Regions from separate parts of the Homo sapiens genome. Here region 2 is linked to region 1. Evidence: promoter capture Hi-C in human tissues and cell types (Jung and others, 2019). All regions are on one chromosome and are shown on one strand. The core of a region is centred on a gene start or on the middle of the fragment in contact, and the rest is flanking DNA. Distances in the headings are between cores, read along the strand shown. Region 1 holds the start of RHOT1 (ras homolog family member T1). Region 2 overlaps UTP6 (UTP6 small subunit processome component).

Evidence for each region. The method cuts DNA at HindIII sites, captures the fragments that hold promoters and counts their contacts. A contact is called where the count stands out against the background at its distance.
Region 2: a fragment that was not itself captured here is called in contact with the fragment with the promoter of RHOT1 in region 1 in 1 of the 25 tissues and cell types used here (lymphoblastoid cells).

What each region holds. Positions count from the first base shown.
Region 1 is chr17:32,141,106-32,144,900 of GRCh38, forward strand. It overlaps RHOT1 (ras homolog family member T1), which reads left to right and starts at 1,397. Exons shown (of 20, transcript NM_001033566.3): 1 at 1,397-1,624. The coding sequence starts at 1,588. It overlaps LOC105371730 (a long non-coding RNA gene), which reads right to left and starts at 2,030. Exons shown (of 2, transcript NR_136413.1): 1 at 1,920-2,030; 2 at 121-1,608. RefSeq lists an enhancer at 728-897 and silencers at 1,358-1,587, 1,618-1,677. The HindIII fragment of the contact is 2,047 bases long and covers 359-2,405 here.
Region 2 is chr17:31,883,112-31,886,906 of GRCh38, forward strand. It overlaps UTP6 (UTP6 small subunit processome component), which reads right to left. Exons shown (of 19, transcript NM_018428.3): 9 at 2,869-2,950; 10 at 1,313-1,394. Among named protein-coding and RNA genes, the nearest start is that of UTP6, 17 kb to the right of the region's middle. The HindIII fragment of the contact is 3,843 bases long and covers 44-3,795 here.

The sequences.
Region 1 (3,795 bases), core at 147-2,646:
GCGTGAACCCAGGAGGCGGAGCTTGCAGTGAGCCGAGATTGCGCCACTGCACTCCAGCCTGGGCGACAGAGCGAGACTCCGTCTCAAAACAAAACCAAAACAAAACAAAAAATCTGTGGATTACAACTTTTTAGTGACTTTTTAATATAATAATGATAGCTGAGATCAGTAGAGCACACGCTCTGAGTCTGGCACTGTACCAAATGCTTGACAAGTATTATAGTATTTATTACTCACAACCATCTCAAGAGGAAGGTATTATCATCATTATTTCCATGCTACAGAAGAAGGAACAGTGGCTGAGGGAAGTAAAAATAAAAGCACTTAGTCGAGATCACAGAGCTATTATGTGGAGCCTAGATTCAAACCCAGGAAATTTGCCAGCAACTCTTAACTGCTGCAAGAGACCACATGACTTCTCCTAGGAGAAAGGGAAGTTGGTATTACGCACATTTCATTCCCTTTAAGTGTTTATTGTGTAATATTTAAGATAGAAAAAATGTACATTATGCACAGATAGTGCTTCCTCATTAATTTATGTATTTTATATTTCCCACTGTGTGCCAAGTATTAGGGATGTGATATATATTCGCACGCGTATGTATATATATATATTTGCCATTGTGTACCAAACATTAAGCATGTAACAACAAATTCCTCCAGATGGAGAGGGTCACGAGAAAATTAAGGCAATGTTAGAAAAATCATCTAGAGTTTATTATCGAGTGCCACCTCCGTGTCTAGCATTACGCTGGGTAAGCCTGAGTAAAGAAGAGTGTCCGAAAACCCTGCCATAAAATAAACTACATAGACAGAAAAAAAGTCACTTAGTTTGGTTATAAAGAAAGGAGTCTTGTTCACACAGCGTAAAAACGAATCTTATAATCGTATTTTATAAGCATCAGAGGCAAAAGCAACTAGGGTGACGGGCTTTGGGGAGTGGAAAGCGCCGGATCCTGGGAGCCAGTCGCCCTACTCGATCAAGCATTTTCTGACGGCCCTATCCAATAACGTGGGGACGCAGCTGAAAACCATGCAAGCTGATCGCTGCCCTCCCGGAGTTTATGGTCTGGTGAGAAGATCCCTGCTCTGAGTCACTGCCAAGCTCTAGCTATGTGACTTTGAACAGGGAATTTCTGTCCCTATCTATAAAATAAACGGGGTTAAACCAGGGAATCCGCCATTCAAATTCCTGGCCCAAGTGTCTCCGGGGTCGCGGTGCCCAAAGGAGGGTGGGCGAGGCTCCCTGGGCCTGCGCTGCGGCGGCCTGACAGCGGGAGCGCTGTTCCGGCGCAGAGCGCGTTCGCGTTCCGAAAGCGCGTGTCCCTCGCCGCGTGCCGTCGTCCCCGCCGCCGCCGCCGCCGCCGCCGCCGCCGCCGCCGCCGCCGCCGCCGCCACAGCCCGCTGGGCCGGAGGAGGCGGAGCTGGCGCTGTCCCGGCTCTCTTGCGGGGAAGCAACTGAGGGGGCGGCGCGGCGGGCCCCGGCGGCCGAAGAGGCTGGCAGGTGGCGCCGTGGGGTGGGTGCTCCTGGTGAGAGGAGTCCACTCCGTGCGTGCGGGCGGAGGCCGGCCCCCGAGAGCCGCCGACATGAAGAAAGACGTGCGGATCCTGCTGGTGGGAGAACGTGAGTCCGCACCCTCTGGCCGGCCCCTGAGTCCCTGCCCTCCCTGCCCCTGCAGCCCCTGTCGCCCCTGTCGCCCCTGCAGCCCCAACCTTTGCAGCCCCGGCCCTTCTCGCGCCTCACAGCTCCGCTCGCCTTTCTCCGCGTTCCTAGGCCTTCCAGCCCCTTCACTCTTCTCTTTTGGCTGGCCGCCGGCGGCCCTCACCCTGTCACCTCACCTGGGCCCTCCAGAGATCTCCTTTCCCTGTTCCCCAGCCGTCCTCCCAAGCCATGTCCCTATTAGCCCTAACCGCCCGACCTCATCCCTCCGAAGCTTCTCTCCTCCTTTTCCTCTTCGAACCCTGTCCTTCTGGGCCTCACAGTTTCCCAGGCCGCCTCCTTTCAGACCTTCTTGTCTTCTGGAGATTCCCTTATCACTGCCAGGCAGGTGCTGGAATAAGCAGACTGACCAATAGGGATTGCGTGAACCGGCTCCCGGGGAAGCTGGGGGAGGGGTGCAGAACTATTCGACTTGTGGGCAAGGTCAGGTTTCTGCATTTTTTTGGCACTCGCAGTCTTCACTCTCTCTATGTATTGACATTAAGATATGAGTAGTGGAAAGGGCCGGATCCTTTTTAGCAGTACTTGTACTTTGCATTGGACTAACTCCTCGTACTCGAGATATTTCATCAAAAATTTTTACTCAACTTCGAGTTATGCAAGCGCTCAATGAATTAGAATTATCTGGGGAGGGTCCAATTGTTGTTACCCTAAAGCGTAATCTTTGCCCTCTTTTTAAGCATTATTTATTCCATAGTTACTTCGTAGTTAACTTATTAATAACCACAGGCACACAGACATTTGATATCTCCCCCCACCCAGAAATTTCATACATTTCACCTTTTGAAAATATAATAAAGGAGAGTTCCCTCTGTTCACTGACATGAGGACGCAACAGCGGGGACTTCTTGATTTCACTCTGCAAGTTATGTAACTCAGTTGCTAGGACTAAAATAAGAAAGTGGGCCAGGGATAACTGGATTGTTTGTTTTAAAGAGTTAATACATTCGTTAATAGTCTGCCATTGCTGTTTCGAAGCATTCTGTTTTAAACCATTATTTCATTCTTGGTAACCCCTCAGGGTCACCGTGATGGAATCCCAAGGAAGAAAGTTAACACGTTTTTACCCTCTTCTGTAGTGTTCTTTGAGTTCATTGAAATTTCATCCACCTGCTGTTTGGAGAAATCTTCCTTTAGAATTAGAATTTAGGAGTAAGCTTAGCCAGCCATAGTTTACTTTTTGATTTGCAGTTGTAAATTTTTATTTTTATTTATAACTATATCTTAATCTGTATTTTTCATGGACTTCCTTGACAAGGTTCAGGAAGGTGTTATTTAACATATAATTCATGCTTATGCTTTTGGAGCAAGGTAGGGAAAGTGAGTAGACGACTTGCTTAAAAAACTGATCCTTAAATATATGATGAAATAGTTTGTTGTTGTTGTTGTTTTGAGACAGAGTCTCGCTCTGTCACCGAGGCTGGAGTGCAGTGCCTGGGATTACAGGCACTGTGGCTCATGCCTGTAATCCCAGCACTTTGGGAGGCCAAGGCAGGCAGATCACTTGAGGTCAGGAGTTCGAGACGAGCCTGGCCAACATGGTGAAACCCCGTCTCTACTAAAAATACGAAAATTAGCCGGGTGTGGTGGCACACACCTGTAGTCCCAGCTACTCTGGAGGCTGAAGCAGGAGAATCACTTGAACCCTGGAGGAGGAGGTTGCAGTGAGCTGAGACATGCCAGCCTGGGCAGCAGAGCAAGACTCTGTCTGAAAAAAAACCTTTAATAATGCTCCCACACAGCTGGGTGAGGTGGCTTATACCTGTATTCCAAGCACTCTGGGAGGCTGAGGCAGGAGGATCACTTGAGGCCAAGGAGTTTGAGACCAACCTGGGCAATGTAGTGAGATCCTGTCTCTACAAAAAATTTAAATATTAATGGCTGGGCACAGTGGCTCACTCCTGTAATCCCAGCACTTTGGGAGGCTGAGGCAGGAGGATTGCTTGAACGCAGGAGTTTGAGACCAGCCTGGGCAACATAGTGAGACCCCGCCTCAAAAAAAAAAAACCACAACACTATTAGCTAGGCATGGTGGTGTGCACCTGTAGTCCTAGCTACTGGGGAGGCTGAGATGA
Region 2 (3,795 bases), core at 715-3,214, 260 kb before region 1:
TCACTTGAGCTCAGGAATTCAAGATCAACCTGGGCAACATAGTGAGACCTCATCTCTATAATTAAAAACATAAATAAATAAAAATATAATAAAGAAATAAAAAGAATAAAATTACCAGCACTCAACTATAAACATATGAGTATAACTCTCATTTTATGGATAAATGCCAGGAAAATAGAATTTAGAATTTTATATAAGCTTTAGATTTTTTTTTTTTTTTTGAGATGGAATTTTGCTCTTGTTTCCCAGGCTGGAGTGCAATGGCACAATCTTGGCTCACTGCAACCTCCACCTCCCGGCTTCAAGTGATTCTCCTGCCTCAGCCTCCCGAGTAGCTGGGATTACAGGTATGCGCCACCACGCCCGACTAATTTTGTATTTTTAGTAGAAACGTGGTTTCTCCATGTTGGTCAGGCTGGTCTCAAACTCTCGACCTCAGGTGATCCATGCATCTCGGCCTCCCAAAGTGCCGGGATTACAGGCTTAAGCCACCGTGCCTGGCTAGATTTTTTTTTTTTATTGAATAAACTATTTCCCCCAGTAAGTGAATCAAAGAACTCAATCAGGAAGATACTTTTTTTCTGAGACACGGTCTCACTCTGTGACCCAGACAGGAGTGGAGTGGCAGGATCACAGTTCACTCCAGCCTCAACCTCCCAGACTCAGGTGATCTTCCCACCTCAGCCTCCAGAGTAGGTAGGACCACAGGCATGCACCACCACACCTAGCTTATTTTTTGTAGAGACAGGGTTTCACCGTGTTGCCTAGGGTGGTCTCAAACCCCTGAGCTCAAGGGATCCACCTGCCTTGGCCTCCCAAAGTACTGGGATCCCAAAGTGTGAGCTACTACACTGGGCCAGGAAATTTTTTTTTAACGTAATATGATATTAATTTTTTTTTTTTTTTGAGATGGAGTTTTGCTTGTCACCCAGGCTGGAGTGCAATTGTGGGATCTTGGCTCACTGCAACCTCCGCCTCCCAGGTTCAAGCGAGTCTCCTGGCTCAGCCTCCCAAGTAGCTGGGATTACAGGCATGCACTACCACGCCCAACTAATTTTGTATTTTTAGTAGAGACGGGGTTTCACCATGTTGGTCAAGCTGGTCTCAAACTCCTGACCTCTGGTGATCCACCCACCTCAGTCTCCCAAAGTGCTGGGATTACAGGTGTGAGCCACTGCACCCGGCCAATATTAGCTTTTATTCCAGGGATTTAGTGTGGTATCTTCTTTCTCTTCTACTAAATATCCAACCTCAAACCCTTAATCTCAAGATCAGAAATAGATATATTCACCTTTCTACTAACTTTACTTACTCATCATAAATCTCTTTTTGTAGATCTTTGGCAAAGTCAAATAGCTGTGCAATCGAAAGCAGTGACACGTGAAATTCTGCACCTAAATTTAAAAAGCAGGGGAGGGGAAGTTTATTGCCAATAAGAATCACTTTACTTTAAAAGTAGCATTCTTTTCATGTACTGGAGTTAATCTTCTTGTTTTTTGAAATGAGAAATAGAATAAAATAGAAGAAAAGTCATCCCATAGTCCCCTCACCCCAGTGTCCCCCTACTCAAGCAAAGCTATTGTTAATCTTTGGAGTATTCATAAAAAAAGAACTAATTTTCAACTCCCCACGATTTAATTACTCCATGAGAACTTACTGAGGATTGGTGCAATGGCTCACACCAGTTATGCCATCACTTTGGGAGGCCAAGGCAGGAGGATCACTTGAGCTCAGGAGTTCAAGACTAGCCCGGACAACATGGTGAAACCTCATCTCTACTACAAGTACAAAAACTAGCCAGGCATAGAGGTCCATGCCCAGCTACTCAGGAGGCTGAAATGGGAGAATCACCTGAGCCCATGAAGTCGAGGCTACAGTGAGCCATAATTGTACCACTGCACTCCTGCGTGGGTGACAGAGTAAGACCCTGTCTCAAAAAAAAAACATGGAAGGATAAATGAGTACACGCTGGGTACAGTATACACTGCTCGTTGATGGGTGCACCAAAATCTCAGACATCACCACTAAACCTGTTCCCCAAAAACCTATTGACATTTTTATTTTTTTGAGATGAAGTCTCGCTCTGTTGCCCAGGCGCTCTCAGCTCACTGCAACCTCCACCTCCCGGGTTCAAGCAATTCTCCTGCCTCGGCCTCCCAAGTAGCTGGGATTACAGGCGCCCACCACCACACCCAGCTAATTTTTGTATTTTTAGTAGAAATGGGGTTTCACCATGTGGGCCAGGCTGGTCGCAAACTCCTGACCTCAGGTGATCCACCTGCCTTGGCCTCCCAAAGTGCTGGGATTACAGGCATGAGCCACCATACCCGGCCCAAACCTATTAAAATTTAAGGGAAAAAAATGGGAGTAGAATATAAATTTTAAAAAGAGACTTATGCCAGGCATGGTGGCTCACGCCTGTAATCCCAACACTTTGGGAGGCCAAGGCGGGCAGGTCACAAGGTCAGGAGTACGAGACCAGCCTAGCCAACATAGTGAAACTACGTCTCTACTAAAAATACAAAAATTAGCTGGGCAGGGTGGCACACACCTATAGTCCCAGCTACTTGGGAGGCTGAGGCAGGAGAATCACTTGAACCCAGGAAGCAGAGGTTGTGGTGAGCCGAGATCACGCCAATGCACTCCAGCCTGGGCAACAGATCAAGACTCCATCTCAAAAAATAAATAAGTTACTGAAATGTTCAATTATAGCCTAGGAAAAATAAGTATTTTCTGAAAGAAACAGGACACTATTCCTACAGAGTTTTATACACATTCTAATGGAAAATTTCAAAACTAGCTAAAGATCTTCATTAAGAAAAGAATGTTTCACTTTCCTACCAAAAATAATGTTCAAAAGATACCTACCTTTAATTATGCTTACAGAATTTTTGTAGATGATCCATGCCAACTCGCCCTTAAGGATTTCTTCAGAATAATCAGGATTCTCCTAAAGAGTGTTATATCAAACGTAACTTAACAGGTAGTACAAGGAGGAAAAGCACTAGGACGAAAATTAACAATCCTAGACTACCTGTGCCATATGACCACTGGTAAATCATGTCTCTCTCTCCGGGCCAGTTCCCTCACTTGTAAAGTGTGCAGCTTGAACAAGATCACTGACCTTCCAACTGTGTTCTCTGAGGCTCCAAGAGTGGTGGCAAGATCACATGGCTTAAGGCCTCACTCTCCATTTGGACCAAAACAGGTCAGATTTTACATGTCTTGTTTGCGCTTCTCTGTAACATTTTATTTGAATAAAAAAGTCCTGGCCTGGCGTGGTGACTCATGCCTATAATCCTAGCACTTTGGGAAGCCGAGGCAGGCGGATCACTTGAGATCAGGAGTTCATGACCAGCCTGGCCAACATGGCAAAACCCCATCTCTACTAGAAATACAAAAATTAGCCGGGAGTGGTGGCGGGCACCTGTAATCCCAGCTACTTCGGAGGCTGTGGCAGGAGAATCACTTGAACCCGGGAGGCGGAGGTTGCAGTGAGCCAAGATCGTGCCAGTGCACTCCAGCCTGGGCGACAAGGAGCAACACTCCGTCTGAGAAAAAAGTTCTAAGCTGGAAACCACAATAACAGACAATAGCAAAGTTTCTTCTCAGCTCTAACATTCTAAATCTTTTAATTATTCTGTCATATAAAAAATTATATAAAAAGGGAAAGAAAGAAGGCCAGGAAACCACACATTTCACAACCTTTCTCAAGCTCCTTGAATCCATTAATATATCACTTTATGAGATCATACAGCGTTAAAGAATAGTATTTGGCTATTCTGTAAGTAACAA